Regions from separate parts of the Homo sapiens genome. Here regions 2 and 3 are each linked to region 1. The links are contacts of gene promoters, found by promoter capture Hi-C in blood cells and fetal thymus (Javierre and others, 2016). All regions are on one chromosome and are shown on one strand. The core of a region is centred on a gene start or on the middle of the fragment in contact, and the rest is flanking DNA. Distances in the headings are between cores, read along the strand shown.

Evidence for each region. Contacts are between HindIII fragments. The CHiCAGO score rates a contact against its expected background, and 5 or more counts as called.
Region 2: a contact is called between a fragment that was not itself captured here and the fragment with the promoter of DYNLRB1 in region 1, in 1 of 17 cell types (neutrophils). The highest score is 6.0, in neutrophils.
Region 3: a contact is called between a fragment that was not itself captured here and the fragment with the promoter of DYNLRB1 in region 1, in 1 of 17 cell types (megakaryocytes). The highest score is 5.3, in megakaryocytes.

Annotation. Positions count from the first base shown.
Region 1 is chr20:34,514,251-34,517,988 of GRCh38, forward strand. DYNLRB1 (dynein light chain roadblock-type 1) reads left to right here and starts at 2,172. Exons shown (of 4, transcript NM_014183.4): 1 at 2,172-2,211. The coding sequence starts at 2,209. RefSeq lists enhancers at 1,194-1,253, 1,364-1,603, 1,992-2,857, 2,524-2,703 and a silencer at 2,064-2,173. The HindIII fragment of the contact is 8,760 bases long and covers 1-2,734 here.
Region 2 is chr20:34,721,565-34,725,074 of GRCh38, forward strand. The region is part of intron 14 of NCOA6 (nuclear receptor coactivator 6); the gene reads right to left. Among named protein-coding and RNA genes, the nearest start is that of TP53INP2, 19 kb to the left of the region's middle. The HindIII fragment of the contact is 4,180 bases long and covers 1-3,510 here.
Region 3 is chr20:34,750,206-34,753,984 of GRCh38, forward strand. It overlaps NCOA6 (nuclear receptor coactivator 6), which reads right to left. Exons shown (of 15, transcript NM_014071.5): 9 at 1-314. Among named protein-coding and RNA genes, the nearest start is that of TP53INP2, 48 kb to the left of the region's middle. The HindIII fragment of the contact is 5,391 bases long and covers 1-3,779 here.

The DNA of each region.
Region 1 (3,738 bases), core at 922-3,421:
CTATGTTGGCCAGACTGGTCTCGAACTCCTGACCTCGTGATCCGCCCACCTTGGCCTCCCAAAGTGCTGAGATTACAGGTGTGAGCCACTGCGCCGGGCCAAAACTCTAAGCCTGCCACTCCGGGACATTCTTGGTCCTATTCCAGCTCCTCCTTCATTCTCATTTTGGCTCCTGTCACATGAACTATTGGCCATTCTCTTTTTTGCTTCTGGGATTGTAATCTGTTAAAATCCTTTCACTCCTCTCAGTCTGGTTCTCCATGGGCAAGACAGTGGTGATTCTTCCAGTGCTTATCTTCCAGGATGTTTTAGGGTCCAGTCTCTGCAGCACTTCTTCCCCTTGCTAAATGCTTTCCTAATGTTTCCAGCATTCAATAGAAATTCCTTTGGATCCAGTCCTTTTAAAAATTTATTTTGAAATAATTTTACATTTACAGAGCTGTTGCAAAAATGGTTAAGAGTTCCTGCACAGTCTTCACCCAGCTTTCTCCAATGTTATGATCCCATATAACCATGCTAGAATTACCAAAACTAATAAATTAACACTGGTAAAAATAACACTAAACTACAGCCCTTACTCAGATTTCACCAATTTTCCCACCCATGTTATTTTTCTTTCTCCTTACTCCTCTAATCTGTGACAGTTCCGCATTCATTCCTTGCTTTCATGACTTTGAGATTTTGGGGGGCGGGGGCGGGGTACAGGTATCTTGTAGAACATCCCTCACACTGGATTTAGTGAAATTTTCTCATGGTTTAAGGCTGGGAGTTTTTGTGGAAAATGACTCGGAGGTGATGTGCCCTTAACGCATTTTTATCGGGGCACACGGCATCAATATCTCCCCTTGCCAGTAATACTAACTTTGATCTGGTTACGGTGGTGTCTGCTAGGTTTCTTCGCAGTAAAGTCAATCCTCTTAACATGCAGACACTCCTGGAAGGAGAACCAAATCCTTCCTCACTGAAGAGCAGCTACTGTGGAATGAAACTTTGGAGTTAGATCATCGTTGAATCCAGCAAGCTACAGTGCCTGGGAGAAACAGCATTTATAAAGTATCGAGGTTACCGATACTTCCCTGAAGCTACCGGAGATAACGTTATGTGCGTGTTCAGCACAGTAATGTGGCACAGGGTTCACTAAACGGCAGCATGTTTTAACAGAAGTTATTTACTCCTAGAGGACCCAGAAACGTTTGCGGCCTGCCGGAACAGGACAACATAGGGCTCTGGGAAGAGTCCCCCTTTCAGAGGTGAGAACAAGACAGAACACACAGATGTGAAGTGCCTTCTGCTAGGTAACGCGAGGCGGGGCTGAGCTCGGATTCTAAAGACTCCCAGGCCAGCCCTAACCAATTCATCTCCGAGCTTGCACGGCATCTTACCCGGAGACTCGAGGTACCTGACTCCAGCCCCACCCCAGGCCTGCCCGATCCCGAAGCGCATTTTGGCCCTGGGCCTCTCTCTGGCTCAGTCTGGGCGCAAAGCGGGTCTCAGCAACCGTCCCACTTGCCTTCATACCCTCCCACCACGCTCCACTCAGGGACTCCAGAACCAGCTTAGACCTCCATTGAGAGCTGAAAGCCTCTTCCGATACCGAGAACCAGCACTGAAAGCCTCTTCCGATACCGAGAACCAGCATGGTTTTTGTTTTGTTTTGTTTTAGTCAGGGTCTCTTGCTCTGTCGCCCAGGCTGGGGTGCAGTGGCGCAATCTCGGCTCACTGCAGCCTCGAACTCCTGGTCAGGCGATCCTCCTACCTCAGCCTCTGGAGTAACTGGAACTACACGAGCGCGCCACCACGCCCGGCTAATTTTGTTTATTTTTTAGTAGAGAAGGGGTCTCTCCATGTTGCCCAGGCTGGTCTCGAACTCTTGGGCTCAAGCAATCCTTCCGACTCGGCCTCCCAAAGTGCTGGAATTACAGGCGTAAGCCACCGCGTCCAGCCAGAACCAGCATCTTTTCTGCACGGCTGGAGTTGGGAATTTTCCACAGCTTAGCGCACTGCTCCTTAGCTTTTCGCTTTGCCACAGTGGAAAGCAGATTTTCCAAGAATCCTGGCGGAGCCAAGATCGGCTCGCCCGCCCCCGCCTCACGCTGGCTCCTGATAGGCAGCTAGAGCTGTCCGTTTTGACAGAAACCTTTGCGCAGGCGCAGAAAGGCACAGGACTCGCTAAGTGTTCGCTACGCGGGGCTACCGGATCGGTCGGAAATGGTGAGCGTGCGCCGGGGTCTTGTGGCTGGCGGCCGCCCACCACCCCACGCCAGGCCTTCAGTCTTCCGAGGATGAGGGGATCTCAGAGCTCCGGACAGGGAATCGGTGGTGGCTGGGCGTGGCCGGGCCCGGGCCCCAGCCGACTTGAGGGTGGAACCCGGCGGCGGAGGCCTCTAAAGCCTGACCGAGGCGGGGCCGCCGGATCCCGCTGCCCCTTGACCGGAAGCGGGAGCCCAGCCTCGGCCAGGAAGAGATGATGGGCGAGGGGTGGGCGGCGGCCCTGCAGCCTAGAGTTTTGGGGCCTTGGTGCGCGATGGCAACCCTGGCAACGTTTCCCGGGAGCTCAGTTTGTGGCAGGCTCTGCCAAGCACTTTATGTATCTTGTATTTCCTCCGCCTCCTCCCAGCTCTGTGAGGTAGATACAATCTTTAGTCCCATTTTGTTATACATATCTGTTATTCAGCGCCCCGAGAAGCCAAGTGCTTTGCCCCAGGAAATAGTGGAGATGGATTTGAACCCTAGAAGCTTGACGGCCGCCACTCTGTCGGCGTGGTTCTTTCTAGCCGCTGGGACTGGGTGCCAGAGTCAGGAACGGGCGGGGTCTGCTCTTGGGGATCCCAAAGCTTGCTTTCTACCTTGCTTGCTGCAGCTGTGGGTTCTCAACGCCGTTACAGGTTTTGTGTTTGTAATCCTCACAGCTTGGGCAAAATTTGAAAAAGTTTCAAATTTTAAGCCATGTGAATATATTACTTTTTCAAAAATCTTATTTAGAAATCTAGAGCTTGTAATAAAAAAATTGAAAAAAGAAACCGTGTCATCACCTAGAGGCAACCACTTACAGTAGTCATATGACTTCTAGTCTTTTTTGCTTGTTTTTGGTTTATACAGTTTAGCCCCTATTGAATGTGCAATTGTGGGTTCTGTGTTTTTCATTATTACACCACAATATCTCCACATCATTACAAACATGTAATAATGCTTCAAATATGTATAACTTCATTTTTCACATCACTTCTTAAGCTGTAAAAAAAATTGATATATAATAGTTGTACACATTTATGTTGTAGATATACATGTAATATTTTGATACATGCATATGATGTGTAATGATCAAATCAGGCTATATTTATTATAGAATATCCATCACCTTAAACATTCATTATTTCTTTTTTTTTTTTTTTTTTTGAGATGGAGTGTGTCTCTGTCGCTCAGGCTGGAGTGCAGTGGCACCATCTTAGTTCACTGCCACCTCCGCCTCCCAGGTTCAAGTGATTCTCCCGCCTCAGCCTCCCGAGTAGCTGGGACTACAGGCGCCCACCACCACGCCCAGCTAATTTTTTGTATTTTTAGTAGAGACGGGGTTTCACCGTGTTAGTCCGCCTCAACACGGTGGTCTCGATCTCCTGACCTCGTGATCTGCTCGCCTCAGCCTCCCAAAGTGCTGGGATTACAGGCGTGAGCCACCACGCCTGGCCCACATTTTCTTTATCCATTTACCTATTGATGGACGCTAATTCCATAATTTAG
Region 2 (3,510 bases), core at 650-3,149, 210 kb after region 1:
ACCTAGATCTCTCGCATGCACAGTTTACAGTAGGGTTCACACTCCTATGAGAATCTAATGTCACCTCTGATTTGACAGGAGATGGAGCTCAGGCAGTAATGCTCGCTTGCCCACCACTCACCTCCTGCTGTGCGGCCCAGTTCCTAACAGGCCACAGACCACTACCAACCAGTCCATGGCCCGGGGATTGGGGACCACTGCTTTAAAATATCAGGGCATAGTGGCTCACGCCTGTAATCCCAGCACTTTGGGAGGCGAAGGTGGGAGGATCACTTGAGCCCAGGAGTTCTAGACCAGCCTGGGCAACATGGTGAGTCCTGTTTCTACAAAAAATAAAGAATTTAGCTAGCCATGGTCATATGTGCCTGCAGTCTCAATTACTCAGGAGGCTAAGGCAGGAGGCTTGCTTGAGCCCAAGAGTTTGAGGCTGCAGTGAGTGATGATAGTGCCATTGCACTCTAGCCTGGGTGACACAGTGAGACCCTGTCTCAAAAAAAAAAAAAAAAAAAAAAAAAAAAAGCAAAAGAAAAAGCCGGCTGGGCATGGTGGCTCATGCCTGTAATCCCAGCACTTTGGGAGGCCGAGGCAGGTGGATCATTTGAGGTTAGGAGTTCGAGACCAGCCTGGCCAACATGGTGAAACCCTATCTCTACTAAAAATATAAAAATTAGCTGGGTGTGGTGGTACGCGCCTGTAATCCCAGCTACTTGGGAGGCTGAGGCACAAGAATTGCTTGAACCTGGGAGGCGGAGGTTGCAACGAGCCAAGATCACACCATTGCACTCCAGCCTGGGCGATGGAGTGAGACTCCGTCTAAAAATAAATAAATAAATAAATAAAATAAAAGTAAAAATTAAAAAAAAACTTTCATATGGGAGGCCAATGTGGGAGGATCACTTGAGGCTAGGAGCTCAAGATCAGCCTGGGCACACAGGGAGACCCCATCTCTACAAAAAAATTAAAAAATTAGCCAGGCATGGTGATGCACACCTGTAGTTCCAGCTACTTGGGAAGCTGAGGCAGAAGGATCATTTAAACTCAGGAGTTCAAGGTTACAGTGAGCCATGATCATGCCACTGTACTCTAGCCTGGGTGACACAGTAAGAACCTGTCTCAAATGAAAAAAAAAAAAAAAAAAATGCCAAGCACAGTGGCTCACACCAGTAATTCCAGCACTTTGGGAGGCCGAGGCAAGTGAATCACTTGAGGTCAGGACTTCGAGACCAGCCTGGCCAACATGGTGAAACCCCATCTCTACTAAAAAAAATACACACACACCCACACACACAAATTAGCCAGGAATGGTGGTGCAAGCCTCTGTAATGCCAGCAACCTGGGATGTTGAGGCATAAGAATTGCTTGAACCTGGGAGGTGGAGGTTGCAGTGAGCCGAGATTGTGCCACTGCACTCTGGCCTGGGCGACAGAGTGAGACTTTGTCACAAAACAAAACAAAGCAAGAAAAAACGAAAGAAAAAGCTGTATAATAAACTGGTAAACATGTTTCCCTGAGTTCTATGAGCCACTCTAGCAAATTAACTGGACCTGGTTACGAGGGGTTCATGGAAACTCCAATTTTTAGCCAGCTAGTCAGAAGCACAGGTAAAACAACCTGGGGCTTGCACCTGGCATTGGAAGTGGGCAGCAGTCTTGTGGGACTGAGCCCTCAAACCTGTGGATCTGATACTATCTCCAGGCAGATAGTGTCAGAATTGAATTGGAGGACACCCAGCTGGTGTCTGAGGCAGAACTGATGACTTGCTTGATGTGTGGGGAAAAAAACACCTTACATCTTGTGTCAGAAGCGTGTTGTGAGAGTATAGCAGGAGAAACTGAGTCTGTTTTTCTACTCATACACAGTAACTTAACCAGAGACAGTTAGAGAATGATGGCCTGAGGTCTTGCGACTGATGCGGATATCTATACATGACTGTGATTCCAGGGACAGGCCAGAGCTATGCCATTCTTTAGGGAGACACTTAGCACCCCTCCATGCAAGATCACAAAGCCTGAGAGTCATTATGGCCTCTTCTAAGCCAACTGCTAAGCCTCAGAGCAAGGATGTGCCAGGCTTTCCAACATCACCACTGCCACGGTGGGACAATGTTCAGTTTAAGTGTACAGGCTTATTCCCCATCCCCAACACCCCTTAAAAACAGGTTCTAGCTTTCCATCTCTTCTTGGCTGGTAGTTCTCTACAGAGCGGTTCTAGTTTGAGCATCTCTTCTTAACTGTCCCAGTTGCTTCTTAGATTCTTTCTGGTGCCCTGTAAATAACCCTTTAGTACCTTGAGGCTCTGGGCTGAGGTCAAGGTTCCAAAAATCTGGTGTGTGACATCTCTAAAGGCCAATACCTTTTCCCCGCTTTAAAGGTAATTACATACCATATTCTATAGCCTAGAAGATCTTACTCTTTTGGGAAAGTGAAAGGCTACAAGAACATGCAGAACTGAGGGGAAGCAGATTTTCCCATAGAACTCTAGGCATGTTCCCTTTTATGCTTTAAGTGTAGTACTTCAATATACTGAAAAGTGTACTCCCTTCCAAACTAGTTTCTGCCTAGAGATGATTCCCAGAGAGGAGGAATGAAGTTATTGGCTTCATATCTCCACCTAAAATGAGGATACCTAAGAGACCCTGACTGTGGTGTATACACTATTCCTGGAAAAGAAAGAAGGCCTCTCTCACCTTTGCCCCTTAACTCTCCAGCAGGCTGAGTATGGTGATGGTACTTTGTACACCTCAATTTTAACTGTATATGACCTCTGGCCTATTCCCAGAGGCTCTTGTGAGGCATCGTGACATTCTTGCCTAGAGACATAACCTGCCAACAGCAGCTGAGTCCTCAGATCCGTGTCTAGTGTCTAGTGTGGGTGCACCAGAATCTGCCTGGTCTTTAGGCTGGCATCCCAATGATACTTGACCGTTTCTCAGCAGTCCTGCTGATAATCAGGAACTCAGCCAGGATCCCAGCTCTTACCTTACCCAAACTGAACTACTCAAGCTCAGCACATTTCCTAAGAGAATGATCTGGTCACTGCCTCCTCATTCTTCAGGTCTCAGCTTAAATGTCATGTCATTTTTTTCTAGAAAGCCTTCTCTGACCTGGCAGAAGAGCAAGGTATCTCAGCTATATGCTCTTATAGTGCCATGTAATTTTGCTATCATAGCATTTAACATTTAACACAGAGTATTAGAATTCGTCTTTCAATGTGGTAAAGACAGAGACTTTTTTTTTTTTTTTGAGATGGAGTCTCACTCTGTTGCCCAGGCTGGAACACAATGACGCGATCTTGGCTCACTGCAACCTCCGCCTCCTGGATTCAAGCAATTCTCCTGCCTCAGTCTCCTGAATAGCTGGGATTACAGGCGCCCACCACCACACCCAGCTAATTTTTGTATTTTAAGTAGAGAGGGGGTTTCACCATGTTGGTCAGGCTGGTCTCGAACTCCTGACCTCAGGTGATTTACCTGCCTCGGCCTCCCAAAGTGCTGGGATTACAGGCGTGAGC
Region 3 (3,779 bases), core at 4-2,503, 240 kb after region 1:
CACCATCATCTGGCCCTGTGGCATAAGCTGGGCCCTTGAAAGGATCATAGGGTTCTGAGGGTTCAAGGTTCCTTGTTGCTGGACCATCTGGCCCTGGGAGGGCACGATTTGCTGGTGCATGCCCATCAGCTGAGATGGTGGGCCCTGCTGGGGCTGGCCTTGCATGTTGCTGAGGTTCACTTGAGGAACCCCAGAAGTACCAGCCTGCTGATTGTTCATGTTGCCATGAATTCCCATGAGGCTGGGCTGCATCATATTTGGCGGCCCGTGGGACACCTGCATCTGGTTTTGAGGAGGACCAGCTCCTTGACCACCTTAAAAAAAAAAAAAGTCACAGTTTCAGAAATAAATATTTTTATCTTATTGGTATTAAGATACTCAAGTTACATTACTCAGAAAGACATCCATCACCCTTATATCCACTGACCAACATAAATATGCTGTTGACATACTTCCTGTGAGTTTTCTAAACTACAAAGATGTGGCTGTGGGATAACTGCTTACATTCCCAATGACCATATAATAGAGAAGGAGAAACAGTTTCTACATTCCCATATGGTATCTTAAAGATTTAACGTTTCAAAGATCAAGAAAGTTTACTTTCTTTCAGATTAAATAATGAGAAAGGCAGCATCTCACTGTTTTAAAATGACTTGTAGTGGCCAGGCTCGGGTGGTTCATGCCTGTAATCCCAGCACTTTGGGAGGCTGAGGCAGGCGGATTGCTTGAGCCTGGGAGGTGGAGGTTGAAGTGAGCCAAGATCATGCCATTGCACTCCAGCCTGGTGACAGAGTGAAACCCCGTCTCAAAAAATTAAATTAAATTAAATTCAAAAAGCACTATGGGCTACTGAAATAACTCTGCTATAAGAATGTGAAGTGTCGGCCGGGCGCGGTGGCTCACGCCTGTAATCCCAGCACTTTGGGAGGCCGAGGCGGGTGGATCACGAGGTCAGGAGATCGAGACCATCCTGGCTAACAAGGTGAAACCCCGTCTCTACTAAAAATACAAAAAATTAGCCGGGCGCGGTGGCAGGCGCCTGTAGTCCCAGCTACTCGGGAGGCTGAGGCAGGAGAATGGCGTGAACCCGGGAAGCGGAGCTTGCAGTGAGCCGAGATTGCGCCACTGCAGTCCGCAGTCCAGCCTGGGCGACAGAGCAAGACTCCGTCTCAAAAAAAAAAAAAAAAAAAAGAATGTGAAGTGTCCTCTTAGGAAAACCTCAACAATCATGAGAAGACATTTAAAAATGCTTCTTGGAAAACTGTAATAATAATGACTCTCAAAAGCTATGTGTGTGATATGTGGATGCTGCACTTCAAAGAAAATAACACCAAGGACAGGTGTCCTCTGCCCTGATGTGGTAAAAAGCAGTTAATCTTGATCTGGAAGCTGAGCCTCTGGTGGGAGCCAACTGACTAGATGACCCATCTGGAAGCTGCAAATAGAGGAATAATAAAACCTCAGTGACCCTCTCCTGCGCAGTCCCTGGTGAATCATGTGGCACATGTTTTAGTCTTCTCAGCTATTTCTAACTTAGACAAAAGTTGCTACCCGCCTTGCTGTAGTGCTTATTTATTTACTGGGTCTTTGGGATTTTCCTATAGCTACTTGCATTATCTCCCCGTTTAACTGAATAACTTTGTAGTTAATTTTGTCCCTTTTATTTTTCACTTTTTTTGTTGTTTTGTTTTTGAGACAGAATCTGGCTCTGGTGCAACCTCGGCTCATTGCAACCTCCACCTCCTGGGTTCAAGTGATTTTCATGCCTCAGCCTCCCCAGTAGCTGAAACTAGAAGCGCACAACAACACACCCGGCTAATTTTTGTATTTTCAGTAGAGACAGGGTTTCAGCATGTTGGTCAGGCTGGTCTCGAACTGCTGACCTCAGGTGATCCACCCGCCTTGGCCTCCCAAAGTGCTGGGATTACAGGCTGAGCCACCGCACTTGGCCTTATTTTTCACTTTTAAATGGGGACTAGAAAATCCCCTACAATGAAGTTATGAAGCCAGTCCATGCTCCAACTATGAAGGCAGGGGGCAAACTACCTTGTTCACACTATCCAGACTTCTCCTGAACTCTAAGGAAGATTTTCTAAACCAGCCTTATAAACTCAAAGTGGAACTCCATGACCATTGTATATGCTTGTATACAATAAATATACTGTGTATATTCATTCAACTGACAATTATTCATTAAGTACCTGATACATAGAAGGCACTTTGGTGCTGAGGTAACATCAATAAACAAGACAGACCAAATCCCTGCATCCTTGGAGCCTACAGTCTAACTGGCAAGAGACACAACTAACAAACAGACAAGTATTTTTTCAGGAAGCAGTAAAAGCTAACAAGAGAAAGTAGGGTGAGAGAAGAGAAAGTAAGAGATAAGAGTAGAGCTACTTTAGATAGGATAAATGGGGAAACCAAAACATGTACACGTGGGCCGGGCACAGTGGCTCAGGCCTGTAATCCCACCACTTTAGAAGGCCAAGGTGGGTGGATCACCTGAGGTCAGGAGTTCGAGACCAGCCTGGCCAACATGGTGACACCCCATCTCTACTAAAAATTAAAAAAATAGCAGGGCATGTAATCCCAGCTACTTGGGAAGCTGAAACAGAAAAACGCTTGAACCTGGGAGGCAGAGGCCGCAGTGAGCCGAGACTGCGCCACTGCACTCCAGCTTGGGCACAAGAGCAAAAACTCCATCTCAAAAAAAAAAAAAAACACACACAAAGAAAACAAACAAAAAACATGTACATGTGGAAGGTACCATATAAAAACACAAAATAGCTGTGATAGGGTACAAGAATGAGAAATGACTTTGTCATTGTTTTAAAACATACTTTTTTTTTTTTGAGATGAAGTCTCTCTCTGTCGCCCAGGCTGGAGTGCAGTGGCGTGATCTCAGCTCACTGCAACAACCTCTGCCTCCCAGGTTCAAGTGATCCTCCCGCCTCAGCCTCTTAAGTAGCTGGGATTACAAGCGTCCGCCACCACACCCGGCTAGTTTTTTGTATTTTTAGTAGAGACAGGGTTTTACCACGTTGGTCAGGATGGTCTCAAACTCATGATCTCAAGTGATCCACCTGCCTCGGCCTCTCAAAGTGCTGGGATTACAGGCGTGAGCCACCGCACCTGGCCTGTTTTAAAACTTCCTATAAAAAAACATGAATTTGCTGGGTACAGTGGCTCATGCCTGTAATCCCAGCACTTTGGGAGGCCAAGGCAGGTGGATCATGAGGTCAGGAGTTCAAAGACCAGCCTGGCCAACATGGTCAAATCCCGTCTCTACTAAAAATACAAAAATTAGCCAGGCATGGTGGCGGGCACCTGTAATCCCAGCTACTCAGGAGGCTGAGGCAGAGAATTGCTTGAACCTGGGAGGTGGAGGCTGCAGTGAGCCGATATTGAGCCACTGCACTCCAGCTTGAGCGACGGAGCAAGACTCCGTCTCAAAAAACAAAACAAAATAAAAAAAAAACAAACATGAATTCATATAACTCAGGAATGCAGTTTTGCATTAGCAGATAGAGAAATTCAAGCAGTTTGCACTACCCTTCTGTTACCCTGCCAGAAATAGTGTGAACTTTTTTTGTAAAAGTCAGATTTTTGTCTCATTCCTTAGTGATTTACAATTAAAGTTGGAGTCACATTACTAAATTAACTCCAGGAGGGATGGGAATTCAGAAACTAGTTGCACTATCTCAGTCCAAACTGCTTCAATGAGAAAGGGTAAGAGGATTAGTCATGTGGTCCTTAAGCAACCAGAAACATGAAGT